Linked DNA regions of Homo sapiens: region 1 is linked to region 2. The links are contacts of gene promoters, found by promoter capture Hi-C in human tissues and cell types (Jung and others, 2019). All regions are on one chromosome and are shown on one strand. Each heading gives the region's core, a stretch centred on a gene start or on the middle of the fragment in contact. The rest is flanking DNA. Distances are from core to core; before and after follow the strand shown.

Region 1 (6,706 bases), core at 333-2,832, 620 kb before region 2:
GGGGATCTGGGGCCTAGCTGCTCCTGATGGATAATTCCAACTGGTTTTAGCCCTATTCCTTTCCTCTACCTCGAAAGGTTCCTGGTGTCTCAATTTAATGAGCCTTTCTAGGGTACTTTAGTACACATTGGCTTGCCTGTTTTTGGCCATTCCACATGGCTGTAGGCTTAGGAGATCAGAGAAAACAAAAACCAAAGCCAGTTATTACTTGTCTACTTGCTTTCTACCTTCTTTTTTGTTTTGTTTTGTTTTTTGTTTTGAGACAGGGTCTCACTCTGTTGCCTAGGCTGTATAGTTCCACGATAATAGCTCACTGTAACCTTGAACTCCTGGCTTCAAGCGATCCTTCTGCTTCAGCCTCCCAAGCATCTAGGACTACAGGTGCACGCCATGATGCCTGGCTGATTTTTTTTTTCCTTTTTTTTTTTTTTTTTTTGAGATGGAGTTTTGCTCTTGTTGCCCAGGCTGGAGTGCAATGGCACGATCTCGGCTCACCGCAACCTCCACCTCCTGGGTTCAAGCGATTCTGCTGCCTCAGCCTCCCAAGCAGCTGGGATTACAGGCATGTGCCACCACCACTGGCTAATTTTGTATTTTTGATAGAGATGGGGTTTCTCCATGTTGATCAGGCTGGTCTCGAACTCCCAACCTCAGGTGATCCGCCTGCCTTGGCCTCCCAAAATGCTGGGGTTACAGGCGTGAGCCACCACGCCCAGCCGATTTTAAAAAATTTTTTGTAGAGTTAGGGTCTTGCCATGTTGCCCAGGGCTCAAGTAATCCTCCCGCCCTTGGCCTCCCAAAGTGCTGGAATTACAGGCCCGAGCTACTGCACCTGGCTGCTTTCTACTGTCAGAAAATTTGGGCTGGGCGCAGTGGCTCATGCCTGTAATCCCAGCACTGGGAGGCCAAGGCAGGAGGACCACTTGAGCCCAGGAGTTTGAATCCAGCCCAGGCAACATGGTGAGACTCTGTCTTTAAAACAAAAAAAAAGAAGAAGAAAATTCTGTTGGCATCCCTTTTCTGTTATACTTCTTCTCATTATCCTTGTGTAGTTTCATCTTTTTAAATTTATTTGCCACTATTTAGTAGGGTTTTGGCAGGACTGGAATAAAGCATGTGTTCAGATTACTATATGTAAGTGGCAGTTTCTACTTGTTCTTCATTAGCTGGTCTGCCCCAGATTCTACCCAGAGCAAGGAAATTTAAAGGTACCCTTTCTAGTTTAGTACTCCAGAACCCTGCATTAAGCCTGAGATTTGGATGTGGGTTTATTTTGGTTATTTTTACAACAGTGTAAGAAAGCACCTCAAAATTTAGTGGCTTTAAAAAATAATTGTTTTATTATAATTTCTCTTGGTTCCAGGGGTGGCTGGGCTCAGCTAGGCAGTTCTTACTCAGGGTCTCTTGTACAGTTGTAATCAGACAGTGGCTAAGTGTGGAACCACTTCACAGGTTTTCTTTTTTTTTTTTTTTTTTTTTTTGAGACGGAGTCTCGCTCTGTCTCCCAGGCTGAAGTGCAGTGGCATGATTTCGGCTCACTGCAAGCTCCACCTCCCGGGTTCCCACTATTCTCCTGCCTCAGCCTCCCGAGTAGCTGGGACTACAGGCGCCCGCCACCATGCCTGGCTAATTTTTTTTGTATTTTTTAGTAGAGACGGGGTTTCACCGTGTTAGCCAGGGTGGTCTCAATCTCCTGACCTCGTGATCTGCCCGCCTCAGCCTCCCAAAGTGCTGGGATTACAGGCATGACCACCACGCCCAGCCTTCACAGGTTTTCTTACTCCCACGTCTGATGCCAGAGCTGGGAAGGCTCAAACACCCAGGGGTTGGTACAGGCTTCTCAGACGTCTGTTTCTGTGTGATCTTCCCATATGATCTCTCCAACATAGTGGCTGCAGAGTAGCCAGACTTCTTTTGTGGTAACTTGGAGTTTCAAAGGTGCATTCTTGAGAGAGACAGACACAGGGACAGACAGACAGACAGAGCATGCCAGGTGGAAGCATGCCAGGTGGAAGCTGTATTATCTTTTATTTGCTAGCCTGTGGAAGTCATGTTGTGCCACTTCCACAGAACTCTTTGAGTTGAGACAGCCATGAAGGCCCATTCACTTTCAAGGGGTGATGACACAGACTCCCCCTCTAACTGGGGTAGTATCAGGGTTCTGGAAGAGCATGTGGGGATGGGAAATTTGTGGCAACCATCTTTGGAATATCCTGTCTGCTATAGGGTTCTCTATAGCATTGCTGCTTAATCTCAGGATAGCCTTGAATAAGTAACGCAACCTTATATTTCAGTTTTCTTACTCACAAAATGTAAATGTGTCAGTCAGCTCTTGCTACAGTAGTGCTGTGTAGCACACCATTCCAAAACTCAGTGATGTACAATGATAAGCATTTACTTGTTGCCTTTTGCCTCTGAGTATCTGAGATTGAGTGATTTAGACTCGGCTCAGCTAAGCTCCAAGCTGCTTGTTTGTTGGGTTCAGGTCTACAGCATGTGTCTTTCTGCCATCTTGGACCAGCAGCCAGTTGAGGTGTATTCTCCTTATGACTCAAGGGATGAATTCAAGGGGCAAGAGAAACAGCACAAACATGTTTAAGCTTCTGTTCCTCTCAGATCAGCTAATACTTCATTGGCCTTTGTAGCAAGTCGTGTATCCAAGCTCAGCATCAGTGGAGTAGGGAAGGATTTGTTTTGTTTTGTTCTTTTATTTTTATTTATTTATTTATTTTTTGAGACGGAGTCTCGCTGTCGCCCAGGCTGGAGTGCAGTGGCGGGATCTCGGCTGACTGCAGCCTCCACCTTCTGGGTTCATGAGGTTCTCCTGCCTCAGCCTCCCGAGTAGCTAGGATACAGGTGTACCTGCCACTATGCCCGGCTAATTTTTTTTACTTTTTTTAGTAGAGACAGGGTTTCACCATGTTGGCCTGGCTGGTCTCGAACTCCTGACCTCATAATCTGCCCGCCTCAGTCTCCCAAAGTGCTGGGATTACAGGCGTGAGCCACTGCCCCCGGCCTGTTGTTTTCTTTTTGAGACGGAGTCTTGCTCTGTTGTCAGGGCTGGAGTGCAGTGATGCTATCTTGGCTCACTGCAACCTCTGCCTCCCAGGTTCAAGTGATTCAGCCTCCTAAGTAGCTGGAGTTACAGGCATGCACCACCACACTCAGTTAACTTTTGTATTTTTAGTAGAGATGGGGTTTCATCATGTTGGCCAGGCTGGTCTCGAACTCCTGACCTCAAATGATCTGCCCACTTTGGCCTCCCAAAATGCTGGGATTACAGGCATGAGCCACTGTACCTGGCCTGGTTTTAAAACAAAAAAACGCTGGGCGCAGTGGCTCACGCCTGTAATCCCAGCACTTTGGGAGGCCAAGGCGGGCAGATCACAAGGTCAGGAGATCAAGACCATCCTGGCTAACACGGTGAAACCCCATCTCTACTAAAAATACAAAAAAATTAGCTGGGCGTGGTGGCGGGCACCCGTAGTCCCAGCTGCTTGGGAGGCTGAGGCAGGAGAATGGCATGAACCCAGGAGGCAGAGGTTGCAGTGAGCCGAGATTGCGCCACTGCACTCCAGCCTAGGCGACAGAGCGAGACTCCATCTCAAATGAAAACAAACAAACAAACAAAAAACAAGAAAAAACTTCTCAGAGGACTACAAAAGAGGCCACTGAGGCCGGCCATAATAGACTGCATTTAAACAAAATTCCTCAGGTGTTTTTGTTAACCTGGAAAGCCTGGGCAGGGATTAAACATTTCTCTTTCTCTCTTTATCTGAATTCTCAGGTACCATAAATACCTTTATTTGAGCCTTTAGGACTCAGTTTTAGTGAAGATAATTTTTTCAGATTTGAAGTTAGACAAAATTCTCAGTCATGTTGCTTTCGTCCATTCCCAAATTATTGCTAATTTAGCCAGTTTTTGTTTCATCTTTGGGTTGTTTTGGATATAAAACAGGAGCCTTCTGCAGAGTCTTCTCAATTTATTTATTTATTTTTGAGACAGAGTCTCGCTCTGTTGCCCAGGCTGAAGTGCAGTGGCGTGGTCTGAGCTCACTGCAACCTCCACCTCCTGGGTTCAGGCAATTCTCCTGCCTCAGCCTCCCTAGTAGCTGTGATTACAGGCGCCTGCCACTATGCCTGGCTAATTTTTTGTATTTTTAGTAGAGACAGGGTTTCACCATGTTGGCCAGGCTGGTCTCAAACTCATGACTTCGTGGTCCGCCTGCCTTGGCCTCCCAAAGTGCTGGGATTACAGGCATGGGCCACTGTGCCTGGTCTCCTCAAATTTTTTTTTTTAACTCTTGTTTTTCTCCTTGAAATAGTGCCAACCTAGGCATTATTTCCCAATTCTATAACCTATATTCCCAGTATTCCATCTCCCCATCTCAGCTTTCAAGGCTGAGTGCTAATCTGCATGTGGGGTGCAGTGTGAGGGCCTTTTTCAGCCTTCACATCAGTAAACCAGCATGGAGATTTAGTATTGACTGCTGCAGTGTGTTTCATGCTGAGAAGTCATGGAGGGGAGATGGACTGCATTTAAACAACATTCCTCAGGTGTTTTCGTTAACCTGGAAAGCCTAGGCAGGGATTAAACATTTCTCCTTCTCTCTTTATCTGAATTCTCAGGTACCATAAACACCTTTATTTGAACCTTTAGGACTCAGTTTTAGTGAAGATAATTGTTTCAGATTTGAAATTAGACAAAATTCTCAGTCATGTTGCTTTCGTCCATTCCCAAATTATTGCTAATTTAGCCAGTTTTAGGGGATTTTGTTTCATCTTTGGGTTGTTATAGGGTGATAAAATTTATACACATTGTTGTTTCATTTGTTAATTTTAGTGAGGGAAAATGTTTTTTTATTTTTTTTATTTTTTTGAGACGGTGTCTCGTGCTGTTGCCCAGGCTGGAGTGCAATGGCGTGATCTCGGCTCACTGCAACCTCTGCCTCCCGGGTTCAAGTGATTCTGCTGCCTCAGCCTCCCGAGTAGCTGGGACTACAGGCGCCCGCCACCACGCCCAGCTAATTTTTATATTTTTAATAGAGACGGGATTTCACCATGTTGGCCAGGATAGTTTCGATCTCTTGACCTTGTGATCCGCCTGCCTCGGCCTCCCAAAGTGCTGGGAGTACAGGCGTGAGTCACCACGCCCGGCTGGGCAAATGTCTTTATTGAAAGTTATAGTAAACTTTTATCATAATGCTGAGCGTCCAGAATTTATTGGAAGCCGAGTGGATCTTTTTCTAGTTGTCTTTATTCCCTTTTCTAGCTTGTTTCTTTCTCTTTATTCTTCTTGTAAGCTTGATGTCTTTTTCCTTGGCACAGGGTAACTAAGGAAGTGGATGCTACATCTAAAGAGGCCAAATCCTTCTTCAAGCAGAATGAGAAAGAAAAACCACAGGCTAATGTTCCTTCAGCTCTGCCATCACTCCCTGCCGGGTCAGGGTGAGTATTTGAGTCTCACTCCCTGATGTACTTGGCACGTTGGAGAAGCTTTCAGTGCAAATACCTACTTTCGCTGCAGATCAGACTCCTTGCCTGAGAGAGAGAATTATGATGCTGCTTTGCCTTTGCTGCAATATTTACCAGAATGGAAGATGCAAAGGAAAATTAGCCATAACTTTCTCAGGAGGATTGCTTGAACCCAGGAGTTTGTGACCAGCCTGGGCAATACAGTAAGACCCTGTCTCTTAAAAAAAAAAAAATTAGCTGGGCATGGTGGCTTGCACCTCTGTCCTAGCTACTGTGGAGGCTGAGGCAGGAGGATCCCTTGAGCCCAGAAGGTTGAGGCTGCAGTGAGCCGTGATTGTGCCACTGCACTCCAGCCTGGGTGACAGAGAGATCCTGTCTCTTAAAAAAAAAAAAAAAAAAAAAAAGCGAAGAAAATTAGTTGTAGCTTTCTTATTTGTTGCCAGCCTAAAAGAAGTCCTAGTTTATAGTATTGAACACAAAGCTGAACGTGTAAATTTTACATTTAAAAATAATACTTTTCAAATGAAAATATCAGCCTTCTGCAGAACTTTTCATGAAGATTTGCGATGAACACTCACTCCCATCCTCTGTGATCTTAGAGGAACATAAAAAGATCAAAGATGATTTACAAATAGTTTTCTTAACACATTGTCAGGAACTTAATGGTTTTCCTCCCTTCATATTTTTCATATTACTTGAGTTATTTTTAGCTGAAGGCTAGAATTCTTTCTTTTTGGAAGAAGTAAAAATTCTTTTCTTAACCTAAATGTGAGAAGTAAAGTATTACAGTAAATCAGAGAGGCTTAAGACTGTTGCCACAGGGAAGTGAACATAGACCCATACCATGGATAGCCCTGACTACCCACCTGACTCCTGTGGGGAGTTCTGCATAGTCTCCTACAGTGGCTTCTGTGGCCCTTCAGTCAGATATTGTCCCCTCTTCCTTCCCTCCTGGAGCATACCTGTCATTGCTATGAGCAGTAAAGTTTTGTTTCACATTTTTTTTTTGAGGTGGAGTCTCGCTCTGTCACCCAGGCTGCAGTGCAGTGGCGCAATCTCGGCTCACTGCAAGCTCCGCCTCCCGGGTTCATGTCATTCTTCTGCCTCAGCCTCCTGAGTAGCTGGGACTACAGGTGCCAACACGCCCGTCTAATCTTTTGTATTTTTAGTAGAGACGAGGTTTCACTGTGTTAGCCAGGATGGTCTTGATCTCCTGACCTCGTGATCTGCC
Region 2 (7,162 bases), core at 3,772-6,271:
CTAAAAGCAGACTGGGCGCGGTGGCTCACGCCTGTAATCCTAGCACTTTGGGACGCCGAGGTGGGCAGATCACCTGAGGTCAGGAGTTCAAGACCAGCCTGGCCAAAATGGTGAAACCTCATCTCTACAAAAATAAAAAAATTAGCTGGGTGTGACGGCAGAAGCCTGTAATCCAGTTACTTGGGAGGCTGAGGTATGAGAATTGCTTCAACCTAGAAGGCAGAGGTTGCACTGAGCCAAGATCACAGCACTGCACTCCAGCCTGGGGACAGGACTCAATTCTGTTTCAAAGGAAGGATGAGCATAAACATCAGGGAAAATTTTATGTCTTTGTAACCAATAGGCAGAGAGGTGAAAGGTTTGGGGTACAGTAGTAGGTGCAAGTTTTTGGTAATGTCCTAGCTCTTGAGTTAGGAGGAAGATTCAAGGAGTTAAGGAAACTTTTTGCTTTAAAAATTACATATATGTTTTTGTTTTCATAAAAATATCTTAAAGATTAAATAATTAAAAATAGCAAACTAGTTTTTAGCATGCCATACACACCATTCCTGTTGTTTTCCCCTACAATACTCTGGAGATTATTCTAAATTAGTACACATAGATCTACCTCATTTTTTCTAATGGCTACATAGTATTTCACTGTCTGAATATACCATAGTTTATTTAATCAGTCCTCCCTCATGATGAACATTTGATCATTTCTAGTCTATAAATGAGGTTGCAATTAATGTTATTGTTCATGCATCTTGATATAGTATATCTGTAAGATTAAATTTCTAGAAGTGGAAATAACTAGGGCAAGAACTGTGAGTGTTACAATTCTGAACAGATGGCCAAATCATTTGTTCAACTGTAAACACTGGGAGTTCACAGCCATGGTGAGAAATCCAAATGGGAGTGCCCACAGATACTGTCAGCAAGAAGTGCCTGAGTACACCTGCGACTGTGCGCTTGGCTGCTTTGGCACATGAACGGGATTTGCAGCAGAGTAGGTGTGGAAGTTGGGTAAAGGTGACTACTTATGCATTCACCGCTTGAGAAAAGCAACAACTCTGTTGATGTGAGGCCTCTAGGCCTGACGGACAGGTGCTCCATAGACCCACAGACAGCAAAACTCTCGCCTACTCCCTGAGGGTCAGTCCGAAGAGAAGGGAGAGGGAAGAGGGGCGGCTCTTCTGACCTGGGGACCCCTGAGGCATCTGGGCCAGGCTTCCCATACTTGAACTGGCCCAGCACAGATGCCTGGCCCCAGAAGGGCACAAATGGAGATGATCCTTAAAATATCTTTCCTGAAAGAGACAAAGCCAGCTGGATGGGTTAGCCTCTGTACCAGGAGCATTTGATTACAAATCATGAGTTCAAGTGGGATCCCCTGTGGCTGAGCAAGTAAAGCTGGGTGTGGCTTTTCTGCTTTTTGTTTTCTGTTTAAGAGATGGAGCTCACTCTGTTGCCCAGGCTGGAGTGCAGTGGTGCAGTCATAGGATACTGCAGCCTCAAACTCCTGGACTCAAGAGATCCTTTGGCCTCAGCCTCCCCAGTAGCTGGGACGATAAGCCTGCATCACTACAACTGGCTAATTTTTTAAATTATTTATTTATCCAATTATTTTTGAGATGGAGCCTCGCTCTGTCACACAGGCTGGAGTGCAGTGGTGCAATCTCCACTCACTGCAACATCTGACGCCTGGGTTCAAGCGATTCTCCAGCCTCAGTCTTCTAAGTAGCTGGGACTACAGGGGCATGCCACTGCGCCCGACTAATTTTCTTGTATTTTTAGTAGAGACAGGGTTTCACCATGTTCGCCAGGCTGGTCTCAAACTCCTGACCTCAGGGGATCTGCCTGCCTTGGCCTCCCAAAGTGCTAGGATTACAGGTGTGAGCCACCGCACCTGGCCTCAATTTTTTTTTTTTTTTTTTTTGAGACAGAGTTTCGCTCTTGTTGCCCAGGCTGGAGTGCAATGGCACAATCTCACTGCAACCTCTGCCTCCCGGGTTCAAATGATTCTCCTGCCTCAGCCTTCCTGAGTAGCTGAGATTACAGGCAGGCACCACCATGCCTGGCTAATTTTTTATTTTTAGTAGAGATAGAGTTTCTCCATGTTGGTCAGGCTGGTCTCAAACTCCCGACCTCAGGTGATCCGCCCACCTCGGCCTCCCAAAGTGCTGGGACTACAGGCATGAGCCACCGCGCCCGGCCTGGCCTCAATTTAAAAAAAAAATTTTTTTGTAGAGACGAGGTATTGCTTTGTTGCCCAGGCTGGTCTTGAACTCCTGGGCTCAAGCGATCCTCCTGCCTTGGCCTCCCAAAGGGTTGGGATTACAGGCATGAGCCACCATGTCCAACCAAGTTTTTCCTGTTCTAAACAAAACTGTGATGAACAAATTCAGTCCTCCTTTCCACACAGCATCACCCCCAGCCTTTACTCCTGTAGGCCCCTACTTCCCCTTCTGTAATGGAGACAGTGTTCTCTGTTCTCCCCTCAGGTCCTTCCCCAGGGCCCAGGATTAGAGTGAGGGAGTGAGGCACTAACCCTGAGAGCAAAATCTACAGGCATGCCAAAAAACAAACAAAAAAAAGTAACCAAGATAAATAATATTTTAATGCAGTATTGTAAAACTTCAAGATTAATGCAAAAAAATCCATGATGGACAAAATATCAAAATTTTAAATAAAAACAGGAGCTAACCCTGCACTTTCACATCCCTGTCTCAGGAATCCCTGGCCCTGGTTCCAATAAAACTTTATTTACAAAAACAGGTGGCCAATGCCACGCCCCCAACCCCACCCCTCACCCCTGTCTTTTGACAATGTGATTTTTTAAAACATTCTTAAATATTTTGTATTGCGGTAAAATATACATAATATAAATTTACCATTCCAACCATTTTCAGTGTACAGTTCAGTGGCATTAAGAACATTCACATTGTGCAACAAAATAATTTTTTTTTTGAGACAGAGTCTCTCTTTCTCGCCAGGCTGGAGTGTGGTGGGGCGTTCTCGGCTCACTGCAACCTCCAACTCCCAGATTCAAGCGATTCCCCTGCCTCAGCCTCCCAAGTAGCTAGGACTACAGATGCGTGCCTCCACAGCCAGCTAATTTTTGTATTTTTAGTAGAGATGGGGTTTCACTATGTTGGCCAAGATGGTCTCGATCTCTTGACCTCGTGATTCGCCCACCTCGGCCTCCCAAAGTGCTGGGATTACAGGTGTGAGTTACCGCACCCAGCCAACAATATAATTTTTTAAATATTACGTTCAGGTATTAGATATAGTGATGACTGAGTTTTGGGGTGCCCCATTAAATTTTGCCCTCGAACATTATTAAAAAGTCAAGAAACAGTAGATGTCTGCGTGTATGTAGTGAAAGGGGGATGCTTATGCTATGCACTGCTGGTGGGAATGTAAATTAGTACAACTTGTTTGGAAAACAGTACAGAGATTCTTTAACAAACTAAAAGTACACTTTGGGGCTGGGCGCGGTGGCTCACGCCTGTAATCCCAGCATTTTGGGAGGCTGCGGCGGGAGGATCACTAGAGGCCAGGAGTTCGAGACCAACCTGGCCAACATGGTGAAACCCCGTCTCTACTAAAAATACAAAAAAATTAGCCGGGCGTGGTGGCACGCGCCTATAGTCATAGCTACTCTGGAGGCTGAGGCAGGAGAATCGCTTGAACCCGGGAGGCGGAGGTAGCAGTGAGCTGAGATTGTGCCACTGCACTTCAGCCTGGGCAACAGAGTGAGACTCTGTCTCAAAAAAAAAAAAAAAAAGTGCACTATGGGAGGCCATGGCAGGCAAATCGCTTGAGCCCAGGAGTTTGAGACCATCCTGGGCAGCATGGTGAAACCTCGTCTCTACAAAAAATACAAAAATTAGCCAGGCGTAGTGGTGCATGCCTGTAGTGCCAGCTACTTGGGAGGCTGAGGTAAGAGGATTGCTTGAGCCCGGGAGGTCGAGGCTGCAGTGAACCAAGATCGCACCACTACTCTCCAGCCTGGGTGACAGAGTGAGACCTTGTCACGGGAAGGGAAGGGAAAGGAAGGGAAGGGGAGGGGAGGGGAGGGGAGGAGAGAAAAAGTAGATTCACCATTCGGTCCAGCAATCCCACCACTGGGTATCTACCCAAAGGAAAAGAGTCATTATATGAAAAAGACACTTGCACACGAATGTTTGTTTTTTGCAGCCCAATTCACAATCGAAAAGATATGGAACCAACTTAAATAACCATCAACCAATGAGTGGATAAAGAAAATGTAGTTGATATACACGATAGAATACTACTCAGCCATAAAAAGGAACGAAATGAAGTCTTTTGCAGCAACTTGCATGGAGCTGGAGGCCATTATTCTAAGTGAAAGTGATTCAGGAATGGAAAACCAAACACTGTATGTTCTCACTCATAAGTAGGAACTAAGCTATGAGGACGCAAAGGCATACAGAGTGATATAATGGACAATAGGGAGAATGGGAGGGGGTGTAACACACACACACACACAAAACCCTACACATTGGGTATAATGTACACTACTCGGGGGACAGGTGGACTAAAATCTCAGGACTTACCACTATACAATTCCTCCATGTAACCAAAAACCACTGGTACCCCAAAAGCTACTGAAATTTTAAAAACAAACAAATATTTGCACCCGAGGCGAGCACCTCATTCGCCTCTCGCTCTCTCGGGCACCTCCTGGAGCCAGAGGGTCCCATGCGGCCAGCTCCTCCGTGGAAGCAGTTGAAGTTATTCCAGCAGCGATCAGGCCACCGAGGATGTCCGCCCAGACAACCACCCGCGACGGGGAGACTCGCTCCGCCTGTGTCCGCCCACCCTCCTCCCGCGCGGGACACACCTGGCGGGCGCGGCACTCCCTGTCCGCGGCCACCTGGCGCGCAGCTCCCGGCGCCGGGCCCGCCCCTCGCGGCTCTGCCGGGGCTCCCGGCCGGCCAATGGGAGCGCGGTATGCAAATGAGCAGGTGCGGTGGCGGCCCGCCCGGAACGGCCGCGGGGCTCCCGGGATGTTAGAGGCGCTCAGGGTGGCAGCAGAGCAGACGCCGGGCTGCGCGCTGGGAGCTGCGGTCTCCGGCCATGGCCCCCGCTCCGCCCCCCGCCGCCTCCTTCTCGCCCTCCGAGGTCCAGCGGCGCCTGGCGGCCGGCGCGTGCTGGGTCCGCCGCGGGGCCCGCCTCTACGACCTCTCCAGCTTCGTGCGGCACCACCCGGGGGGCGAGCAGCTGCTGCGGGCCAGGGCGGGCCAGGACATCAGCGCCGACCTGGACGGGCCGCCGCACAGGCACTCGGCCAACGCGCGCCGCTGGCTGGAGCAGTACTACGTGGGAGAGCTCCGCGGGGAGCAGCAGGTACAGCCGGGCCGGGGCCCCCCACCCCAACCCAGGCCTCCGTCAGCCTTCCACTCCCGGGCGAGCCCCGTTCACTTGCCCTCTAGCAGGACCCAAGGTGACAGCTTCTGCCCTCCCTTCCCTCGCTTTCCCTCTCTTCTCTCCAGGCAACAGGTCACTGTCGTCCCCTCCAACCCCTCCTTCCTCTCTCCAGGAACTTGCTCTTCCTTTCCACCCTTACCGCCTGGCCCGCCTCCGTGCCAGCTCTCCCATTTCCCCAGCACCCCTCCTTCCAGCGTGTTCCTTCTGCAGCCCCTGCCCTCCGACAACCTGGATTCCCGTTTCTGTCCCCAGCCCCCCATACGCCTCGGCTTTCCTTCCTCTTCACTTATCGGCCTCTCCCTCTTTGCAACCACTCTCCGTTTCTGTTTGGATAATGGGCTCAACCTGTTCCCACCTCCCCATCCCACCTCACTTCTGCTTCAAAGAGGCACAGATCAGTAACTCTTCTCACTAGCTTGGGTTTCCTGGTGCCGCCCTGGCCTTGCCTGGGCCATGTCTGGGGTGGACTGTGTCCTCCAACCTCTCAGACCTTCCCTTATATTCTTGTCCTACACGCTGGCTTGGGACTCCAAAAGAGTGAAATGAAAGGCATGAGCCAGTTTTGCCAAGGAAAAGGGACCAGCACTTTGGACCAGACTGTGTGCTGAGCTGCACGCTTCTGTGCAGTACCAGCTCCCGATGGTATTTAAGTCCTTAACTCAACCTGGGGCAGGTTTTGTTATTCCCATTTCAGGATATGGAATCTGAGGCTCAGGGAGGCTCTGATTAATGCGCCTAAGGTCAAATAGCTAAATAGTGGGAAAGCCACATGTATCTGACTCCAAAATCAATGCTGGCTCCATCCCAAAAGTCTTCGGGTGGAGGAGACAGACCTAGTCCACAGGATTCCAGGTAGGCTCAGGCCAGAGGCAAAGCGACTCTCTTGATGTTCCCCAGGCCTGGCTCTGGGACTGGTATGGGGCCATCATGCTTAGATATACAGTAGTTCCCCCTTGTCCAAGGGGATACATTTCAAGACCCTCAGTGGATCCTTAAAACCACAGATAGTACCGAATCCTATATATGCTATGTTTTTTCCCATATATGCATATCTATGATAAAGTTAAATTTATAAATTAAGAACAATAGGAAGAGATTAACAACAACAATAATAGAATAGTTACAACAATATACTGTAATAAGAGCTATTTGTATGTGGTCCCTTTCTCTCAAAACATCTTATAGTACTGTACTCACTCTTCTTGTGATAATGTAAGATGATAACATGAGGCCAGGCAAAGTGGCTGACATCTGTAATCCTAGCACTTTGGGAGGCCGAGGTAAGAGGATCGCTCGAGCCCAGGAGTTCAAGACCAGCCTGGGCAACATAGGGAGACCTTGTGTCTACAAAAAATACCAAAATTAGCCGGGTGTGGTGGCATGTGGCTATAATTCTAGCTACTTGGGAGGCTAAGGTGGGAGGATCACCTGAGAGGTGGAGGCTGCAGTGAGCCATGATCATGCCACTGCACTCCAGCCTGAGCAACAGAGTGAGAGCTCACCTCAAAAAAAAAAAGATAATAAGATGCCTACATGATGGGTTGGAGTGAGGTGAATGACAGGTGTGGTGATGTGGCATTGGCTACTATTGAAAAGTAATTTAAAACTTATAAATTATTTCTGGAATTTTCCATTTAATTATGTTTTTGGACCCAGGTTGACCGTGGGTTACTGAAACCATGGAAAGTGAAACCGTGGATAAGGGGGACTCCTGAAAACCAACAAT

Evidence for each region. Contacts are between HindIII fragments. The study calls those that stand out against the background at their distance.
Region 1: a contact is called between a fragment that was not itself captured here and the fragment with the promoter of FA2H in region 2, in 1 of the 25 tissues and cell types used here (spleen).

The regions. Positions count from the first base shown.
Region 1 is chr16:75,393,832-75,400,537 of GRCh38, reverse strand. It overlaps CFDP1 (craniofacial development protein 1), which reads left to right. Exons shown (of 7, transcript NM_006324.3): 5 at 5,329-5,448. Among named protein-coding and RNA genes, the nearest start is that of CFDP1, 36 kb to the left of the region's middle. The HindIII fragment of the contact is 4,741 bases long and covers 1-3,952 here.
Region 2 is chr16:74,772,679-74,779,840 of GRCh38, reverse strand. FA2H (fatty acid 2-hydroxylase) reads left to right here and starts at 5,021. Exons shown (of 7, transcript NM_024306.5): 1 at 5,021-5,355. The coding sequence starts at 5,086. RefSeq lists silencers at 4,715-4,774, 4,785-4,914, 4,925-5,294, 5,335-5,384. The HindIII fragment of the contact is 21,235 bases long and covers 1-7,162 here.